2 separate regions of the Homo sapiens genome follow, and region 1 is linked to region 2. The links are contacts of gene promoters, found by promoter capture Hi-C in blood cells and fetal thymus (Javierre and others, 2016). All regions are on one chromosome and are shown on one strand. The core of a region is centred on a gene start or on the middle of the fragment in contact, and the rest is flanking DNA. Distances in the headings are between cores, read along the strand shown. Region 1 overlaps MSRB3-AS1 (MSRB3 antisense RNA 1). Region 2 holds the start of HMGA2-AS2 (HMGA2 antisense RNA 2).

Region 1 (4,234 bases), core at 1,168-3,667, 390 kb after region 2:
CTTCTTCTTCTTCTTCTTTGGTTGTAAATAAGAGAACCCCCAACCACCATGAAGTGCTGGAGGTTTTTTTTGTTGTTTTAACACTAAGGTAAATTGCCTTGTCTGCAAAAGGACAAGCTAACGCCAATCTCCTTAGATGCCCATGGACCATGGAACAGATTACTTCATGCTGCTGTCAACCACCCCTGGCCTTGGGCATATATTGAATCATTGGGGATTACAATCAAAAAGGACCAGAGAGATCATTGCCTTCACTGGTCTTTGAAGTGCATACCTGGGAAGGGCTCTGTGGAGGTGATTTAGGGACTTTGCAGGGAGCCCAAGGGGCCTCCTAGCATATGTGGTCCCAGACATCTACTTCCCACTTTGCCAGAGGAAACGCCAGAGGTATCTGTTTTATATATTGGCCATCTAAGTAAGGTTTTAACAAAAGGGCTCTGCAGCCATGAACATTTGAAAATCATGGATCTGATCCAACCTTGTAATTTTAGAGTTGATGACATTTCGAAGTAGAAGACTAAGTGTCTTAACCAATATCACACAGCTAGTTAGTGGCAGAGCCAGGAGTAACCGAAGGTCAACTCCCAGTCCTGAACAGTTTTCCATCTAGCAGACTGCCTTTTGCTGAAAGATGAAGCTAAAATCGCAGATGTTGCAGGGTCAAGATTAACACCTTACAAATCAGATGTACAAAAACAGTAGCTTATTTATTTTCTGTAACTGATTTAATCTTGCTCTGAAGCTCTCATTTCCACCAATGGTGGAAATAAACTTGCTAAGTTACAGTCTCTTCCAGGGTGGAAAAAAAGGGGAAGAGGGCTTCCTTCACTCAATTTGATGCTGAAACTCCCTATCAGAGTCTATTCTCTACTTTCTATAGATCTCCCCTTCCCTCCTTCTTCCCAAAACAGTGTGTAAGTAATGGAGAAATTATGGATCTGTTAGTCTCAATCTCCTTTCTCAATGAAAGGAGTCTCAATCCAGACCCCAAGACAGGGTTCCTGGACCTCAAGCAAGAGAGAATTCAGGGTGAGTCCATACAGTAAAGTGAAAGCAAGTTTATTAAGAAAGTAAAGGAACAAAAGAATGGCTACTCTATAGCCAGAGCAGTGGTATAAGCTGCTCAATTGAGTATACTTAGAGTTATTTCTTGATTATTTGATAAACAAGGGGTGGATTATTCATGAGTTTTCCAGGAAGGGGTCAGAGATTTCCCGAAACTGAGGGTCCCTCTCCTTTTTAGATTATGTAGGGTAAATTCCGAATGTTACCATGGCATTCGTAAACTGTCCTGGTGCTGGTGAGAGTGTCTTTTAGCAAGCTAGTGCATTATAGTTAACGTATAATGAGTAATGTAGATGACCAGAGGTCACTTTCATCACCATCTTGGTTTTAGTGGGATTTGGCCGGCTTCTTTACCACATCCTGTTTTATCAGCAGGGTCTTTGCGACCTGTGTCTTGTGCCAACCTCCTATCTCATCCTGTGACTAAGAATGCCTGACCTCCTGGGAATGCAGCCCAGTAGGTCTCAGCCTTATTTTACCCAGCCTCTATTCAAGATGGAGTCGCTCTGGTTCAAATGCCTCTGTCAGGTTCTCATGGAGGCAGGAGGAGGGCTGTATAAACTTGCAGGTTGTCTTTCTCTGCAGGTTGCTGCTGCTGTGCAGCTGAGGTACAATCCCTCTCGTTCTTTGGGCATCAGCCTCTGTTCTCCCTACATGTGCTGTGTAAGTGTCTGCAGCTGGTGTAGTTTGTGGTCTGTTCTCTCAGCATGGGCAATCTATGGTGATAGCTCCCATGAAGCTAGGCCATCTCTCCCTGGGAAAATTCTAACCAGGGTACTGGTGCCATGGGAAGGCCATCTTCAGAACAGAACTGGCTGCTGTTTAGGGAAGCTTCTCTTTATCAGGCACCTAAGCAACTGAAAATTAACTAGAATGCTATACATTCTTTCCTTAACGTTTTCTTGAAGTAGAAAATTAAAAGCAGACAAATAATTATTTTGAAAAGTAAGTCTTCTTGTTAAAGACAGCAGAGTAAAAACACTTATGCCATTCCCCTTTCTAAAAATCCAATGAAAACAATAAATGGAACAAAAATAGAAGGACAAAACATCTCCCTATCATGAATGAAGTGAGGAAACAGCTATAATCCCAAACCACAAACTCTGAAGTATACCTGCCAAATATTGTGAGCATGGATGGAGATAAGGGAGACCCTTAATGCTGACAAATGCCTCTTTGGATCTCAAACAGGATATATATTTCTCTAAAATTAAGTGAGGTAAGCTAGAAAAGTCAAGCCAATTGTTCCTTGATTAGAGAGAAGGGCTTGAAGGGCGTGAATAAGACCAGGGGAGAACAGAGACTGTCCTTAGACATATACTGAGTTTGAGATGCTACAGATTATTCAATTTCTCCTTTGTACTTTTCTGAATTTTTTGAGTTTTTTTATGAATACTTTTTGCTGAAACAGTAGTCATTTTAATAATCACTAAATGCTAAACAACCACCCCCACCCCCCACCAAAAAAAGTAACAACTGGTTTTGTTAACTGTGCAGAAGGGTTAAAGGATAATAGCTACATTGGAAATCTTAGAGAAGGATAGCCTTTATTATAAAACCCTAATAGGCTATAGAGTATAAAAAGATAAATCAGACCAGAGTCTGGAAGAAGGGGGAAGAATAAACTGAAGGCCAAATTGTTCTGCATTTAAATATGGGCTCAAGTAGTAGGACTTGGCTGAGTTTATTACTCTCAAGAGTCAAACAGAAAGAGAAGGAGTGAGGAAACCAAGAAACAGTGGGGGTCAGGCTGGGAGTAGAGGAAGTACTAGAACTTGGGTTGGCAGAGTTCATCTTTGTAGTTCAAGAAGTCTGAAGTTTTACAGTTATTTGCATCACCTGGATAGAAGACTTTCTTGGCTTGCAAAGCTTTCTGCCACATCCATAAAGATCTTGTTTTTATTTACTTGTTTGTTTTCTTTATTTCTTTATTTCATGAGGCTGAATAGAAATGAAGGAAACCAAAGGAATAAGACAGCACTTGTGGGTAGGAAATGATAACAGAAGTCTGAGCTCTGAATCAGAGCTAATTAGGGAAGCCATGAGCAACTCCCATCTTCACCCCCAACCCATCCTTTCCCTATTCCAGACTCCTTCCCTATACTGCAAAGGGGTTTGAGCCACTTGAATCTGCACTTCAGCTGACCTCTAGATTAACTGCACTATAAGCTTTAGGTTGGGAAGGGGAAGGACAGCGCCGTTTTGACTGAGTCCAGCTAAAGGTCATTGCAAGGAACAGAGAAGAAGAGGCAGTGCAGGGAGTTCAACATGGCTTCTGTTCACAGGTGACCACTCTCCAGGTGAGGCCACCTGTATCCTATCTACCCACCCACTCTCACCCTTTCTAGACCACTTCCTTTCTCCCAGTTCATCAATCACAAGTAAAAAAAAAAAAAAAAATCCAACATGTGAGAAAGAGGATAACACAATGATTCTTACTGGTATTTGGAGACCTCCAAGGTCTCAGTCCTTGCTAAGATACCTGAGCAATGTTTTAAGTCCAGAACACATTCCTTCTCATTTTGAGGTCTTTGTTCTTCTGACAAATCTTCTGTCTTAAATAGTAACGGTAATGCTAATTGTTAAAAAAAACTATTGCTACTAAAAGCCCAAAGCTCAAAGACAAGCTATCTCCCAACACCCACTCCCCATTATGCAAATGTAAAGAAGAAACGGGATAACCAAGAATTTTTTTTAAACTTTCAGTTTAAAACATAGAAGAATGGGAAACACTCAACAGTTGTGAATGAGTAGCAAATAGCAAACCTTGGTGTATAGGGATAGCAATGAGACTTACTTGGTTGGTGATTCTAGAAGCTGCTCTCTGGGATGATCTCCTTGTTAATGATCCCCTATGGATTCATCTTTGATGGGCAATAAAGAATTGCTTTCTTGAGGGACGCACAGCTTCCTCAGACCTCTTCATGCTACTGCAGGTCTAGAGGCCTGGAATTTGTTTTAAAAATAAAAATTATACACTGTTTTCAGGCAGGCTTGAGGTGTCTTTGACAATGTGGTTTCCTAAAAATCTTAGTTGGCTTCTGTTCTATTTGCTTCCTATCAATTGCATATGTGTGTAGACACAGCCAAAGATGCTGTGTCCACAGTCTTTAAACCTGAAGATCCTTCCCCCTTTACTTCCAACATCACTGATCTATCCTTTTCTAGT
Region 2 (4,370 bases), core at 974-3,473:
CTATTCATGATCTCTCTATATTAAGGAAATACAACATAGGTTATCTCAGTGAAAACAATTCCAATTCCCAATTAAATTCTGGCATACAAGCCAACTAGCTTGAAAGAAACTTAACTGTTTGATTCACTTTGTTTTTAGCCTATATATCACAAAACTGAGGAGTGAAGGTACCTAATTTGTTAATATTTTATTTTTTTAAAACACCTTCACTGAGACATAATTTACATACCACATAATTCACTCATTTAAAGTATATTTTAGTATATTCAGAGGGTTGTGCAACCATCACCACAGTCTAATTTAGAACACTTTCATCTCCTCTAAAAGAAATCTTGTACCCATTAGTGGTTACTCCCCACTACCCTCCACGTCCCTAGCCACCTCCCATGCCTAAGTGACCATGAATCTACTTTCTGTCTCTATGAATTTACCTATCCTGACATTTCATGTAAGTGGAATCATACTATATATGTAGAGTCTTTTGTGTGTGGCTTCTTTCACTGGCCTAGGGTTTTCTAGGGTCATCCATGTGGTAGCATCAGCAGTTCATTCCTTTTCATGCTAAATAATTTTCCCTTGTATGGGTATACCACATTTTACCTATCCATTCATTAGTTGGTGGACATCTGGGGTGTTTCCACCCTTTGGCTATTATGAATAATGCTACTATGAACATTTATATACACGTTTTCGTGCGAACATGTTTTCATTCTTGGGTATGTACCTGGGAGTGGAATCGCTGGTTCATATTGTAATTCTTTGTTTCACTTTTTGAGGAGCTGCCAGACAGCTTTCTAAAGCAGCTGTACCATTTTGCAGTCCGTCCCACCAGCAATGAATCTGGAGTTCCAATTGCTCCGTATACATGCCAATGCTTGTTATTGCCTGTCTTTTTGCTTGTAGACATCCAAGTGGATGTGAAGTTAAACATCATTGCTGTTTCAATTTGAACTTCTCTCACAACTAATGATGTTGAGCATCTTTTCATGTGCTTATTGGCCATTTATATGTCTCCTGGGAAGAAATGTTTATTTAAATCCTTTGCCCATTTAAAAAAAATTTGCTATCTCTTCATAACAAAGTTGTAAGAGTTCTTTTAATGTTTTGCATTCAAGTCCCTTATGATTTGCAAATAATTCTGTGAGTTTGTTCAGTTTCTTCGTGGTATCATGGGAAGAATATTGTGTTATATTGTGTTATATCTGTATCTATTGTATGTGTAGAGCAAAACTCTCCTCTTTTGAGTGAAACATCCGAGGGAATGTTTTTCTGCCTGCCTAACTTTCCAATCGAGTATTAGAGAATACTTCTTATTTCTTTGGCATTATAAAAGATGGATTTGAAGCCTGAGCTTTTCGATGGATTATTTGCTTCCAGTCCTCACTCTCATGTCTGAATATAGGCATGTATTATTCTATCTACACATCGCTGAGATTTGTGAGTACACCTGAGGTACTCTGATGTGGATAGCGACATGCTTTCTTGCACCAGTTCTCCCAAATAACAGCACTTAGGATACGTTCACTATTCACTAGCCCCTGTTCATTCATTCTGAGAGCCCCTTCCTCTCAGAGTTCCTCTCAGTGGTACAGTGGTTTATTGCTGGTACATTAAAAATTCCATATAAAAATCATTAGAGCTTTTTTTTTTTAGATGGACAGAATAAAAATAAAATAAATGGCAAGGTACTTTTGCTCAAAGGAAAAGACGTTCTTCCATTTGACTTTAAATCACAGTAAAGATGACGTCATCACAAAAGCCCAAGTTTTGAGATGATGTTTTCTCCAGGGAAAATCGAACCAAGAACGATGAGGACTTCTTGCCTCTTAGGACACAAAAGCGTGGGCTAATAGAGGATTCATTTCCAAAGGGTCATTTGGAAGAAGAGAGCACTCATCTTCCTCCCATTTTTCCCTGTTGATTACACCTGTACACATGTTTACTCCCAAACCGTTTCAAATCCACATACATTCTTGCAGGCTGACTGGTTCCTACTGCTCAGAAATCCCCCTCCTTTTTTGGCAGAGGCTCCCGCATTCATGTGACTCCTGCACACTGCAGCTCAATGAAATCCTCTGAAAGAGCTGCCAGCTCACCCAATTTTCCATGAATTAGGTCCTGACACTTCAATGAGGGGAAAGACAATGTCTGAATCTCTGCCAGCCCTGGCTCCCGGCCTAGTCCGTGTCACGGAACTTCTACCAGCTACCCTCAGACACAGCACTTCATACTTTTCAGACCACCAAACAAACAGACCCTTGAATACTTTCAATGTTGGTTGGGGTTATGGCTGCCAGGATGTTTTCCCAGCCTCTGGCACCCAATGGCTCCAGACTGTGCCGAGAAAGTTTTTGTTGTTGTTATTTTGTTTTGTTTTTATTTTTATGAATGGCTTTGGTAGAAAACGCAGACTGAAGCATAATACTACCACCATTCATAAAAAGGGAAAGGAAACAAACTGCTGTCTGGAAAGCTTTTTGGACGCCAAACAAACTGTAAGTCTCTTATCTTCCTTGGGGCATCTCTCGGCTCAGAACTAAGTGTTGATTCTTAGAAACCAGTTGCTCCTCGGGGTTCTTGGCATTAAAAACACGACTGGCCACTAGAGTTTTATAAGACCTGAATAACATCAATGATACATATTAGTCTTCTGTGTTGTTAACAGTAAATTTTCATGCACCTTAATAAATGAGTAATATTTTGCACATGCATTTCCTATATGAAAGCTAGAATCCTTTATATTTTTAACATCTGCCCCTTTGTTACTGGGAGGGTCCAGGCCTTACTGTTTTCATTTTCTCACAGGGAAACCAAGGCATAGGGAATTTAAATAATCGTCTGAGATCTTTTTCTAAAACCAAAACAACCCGAGTCTACTGATTCTCTTAATCCCTGATATAATGCTCTGAAGAAACCCAGTCTGTTCCTTGAAAAAAAGAAAAAAGAAAAAAGTCAAATCGAGATCCAATCCAGGAGAAGCTGTACTTCCCGGCTTTGATTTTCATCTCCAGATTGTTCAGCAGGGCCTAGTTCTGATTCCTCCAGGTTGCTGATGAAAAGTGAATCGCAGGGGACAAGAGTCAGACCTGCAAAGTCCAGCTGCCTCACCTCACTTGGAGATTCTTCCTTCATTATCAGTTGTGGAGGGGCTGAGTCCCTCTTAAAGGTGTGTACATCATAATGACTGTTCAGTGAACAGATAGCAAAGCCTTTCAAGTTGTTTAGACAAATCTGATGATCCAATTCTAAGTGTGCACATAGGGAGTTTATACAGTTTAGGCACTTGGTCAACTTGGCATGCAAACCCTTCAATGCACTGAGATTTTGAGTTCATTATGTTGAGACTATTGCACCTTTCAAAAAGCTTGTAATGAAAATCCTCATTCCATGGTTGCATTGAAACTTCTAAAATACAATGGGGTGAAAGAGAGCTTCCTCCCAGAACAAAACATCAATAGCAGCATTGACAAAATCACCAAAGGACTTTGAAGAAATTTTTTGGATTAACAGATGTTAAAACGAAACTGTGGCCGGGTGTGGTGGCTCATGCCGGTAATCTCAGCACTTTGAGAGGATTGTTTGAGCTCACGAGTTCGAGACCAGCTTGGGCAACCTAGCAAGACTTCATCTCTATTAAAAATAATTAGCCAGGTATAGTGGCGCATGCCTGTACTCCCAGCTACTCGGGAGACTGAGGTGGGAGGATTGCTTGAGCCTAGGAGGTTATGGCTGCAGTAAGCTATGATCACACCATTGCACTCCCGCCTGGGTGACGGAGCAAGACTCTGCCTCAAAAAAAAAAAAAAGTGGTGAGAATTCAAAGACCCCATGAGTTGAACATACCACGTGAAGCTTAAAAGGGCTCTTTCTAACCACATGGATTTCAGTGAGTAGTTCTCTGCAGTCTAGCCCTTAGAATGGACTAGCTCAGCCACAATTGAAAGTATAATGCTTAAGCAAATAAATATCATTGTTAAAGTATATACAAATAGCTTAGGGTACAACATGCTAAGAAACTGTAGAAGATAAGCAAAAGGAAAGGACATATTTTTGGATTTCTGAGGTCATACAGCAAATGAACATTTCTCCAAATGGAAGAAAAAAAGTTACTGAATTTTTAAAATCCACAGAGTATTTGGATTTTTAAGATTTTGTAGAGAGACACTTGTGTAGGAAATGGTCTGCCATTCCACCTATTTCAGAATAATTAAGAAGTTCCTCAGCCCTCCTAAGAATACAATCTATGGTTCCAGGAAGTCTAGGTATTTTAAAGCTGATACTCAGACAGCTAAGCCACTCCTTCTGGTAGGTATTGAAAGAAAATCCTTGCTAACAAAGGACCCAGACATTAGTAGTTCATTTTAGTACTA

Evidence for each region. The method cuts DNA at HindIII sites, captures the fragments that hold promoters and counts their contacts. A CHiCAGO score of 5 or more calls a contact.
Region 1: a contact is called between a fragment that was not itself captured here and the fragment with the promoter of HMGA2-AS2 in region 2, in 1 of 17 cell types (M1 macrophages). The highest score is 5.2, in M1 macrophages.

Annotation. Positions count from the first base shown.
Region 1 is chr12:65,559,358-65,563,591 of GRCh38, reverse strand. All of the region lies in intron 2 of MSRB3-AS1 (MSRB3 antisense RNA 1), which reads left to right. LOC105369808 (a long non-coding RNA gene) reads right to left here. Exons shown (of 4, transcript XR_945035.3): 3 at 3,863-4,011; 4 at 2,594-3,620. Among named protein-coding and RNA genes, the nearest start is that of LINC02454, 41 kb to the left of the region's middle. The HindIII fragment of the contact is 1,038 bases long and covers 1,899-2,936 here.
Region 2 is chr12:65,946,560-65,950,929 of GRCh38, reverse strand. HMGA2-AS2 (HMGA2 antisense RNA 2) reads left to right here and starts at 2,223. Exons shown (of 4, transcript NR_199060.1): 1 at 2,223-2,495; 2 at 2,806-3,166. The region is part of intron 3 of HMGA2 (high mobility group AT-hook 2); the gene reads right to left. The HindIII fragment of the contact is 7,270 bases long and covers 1-2,475 here.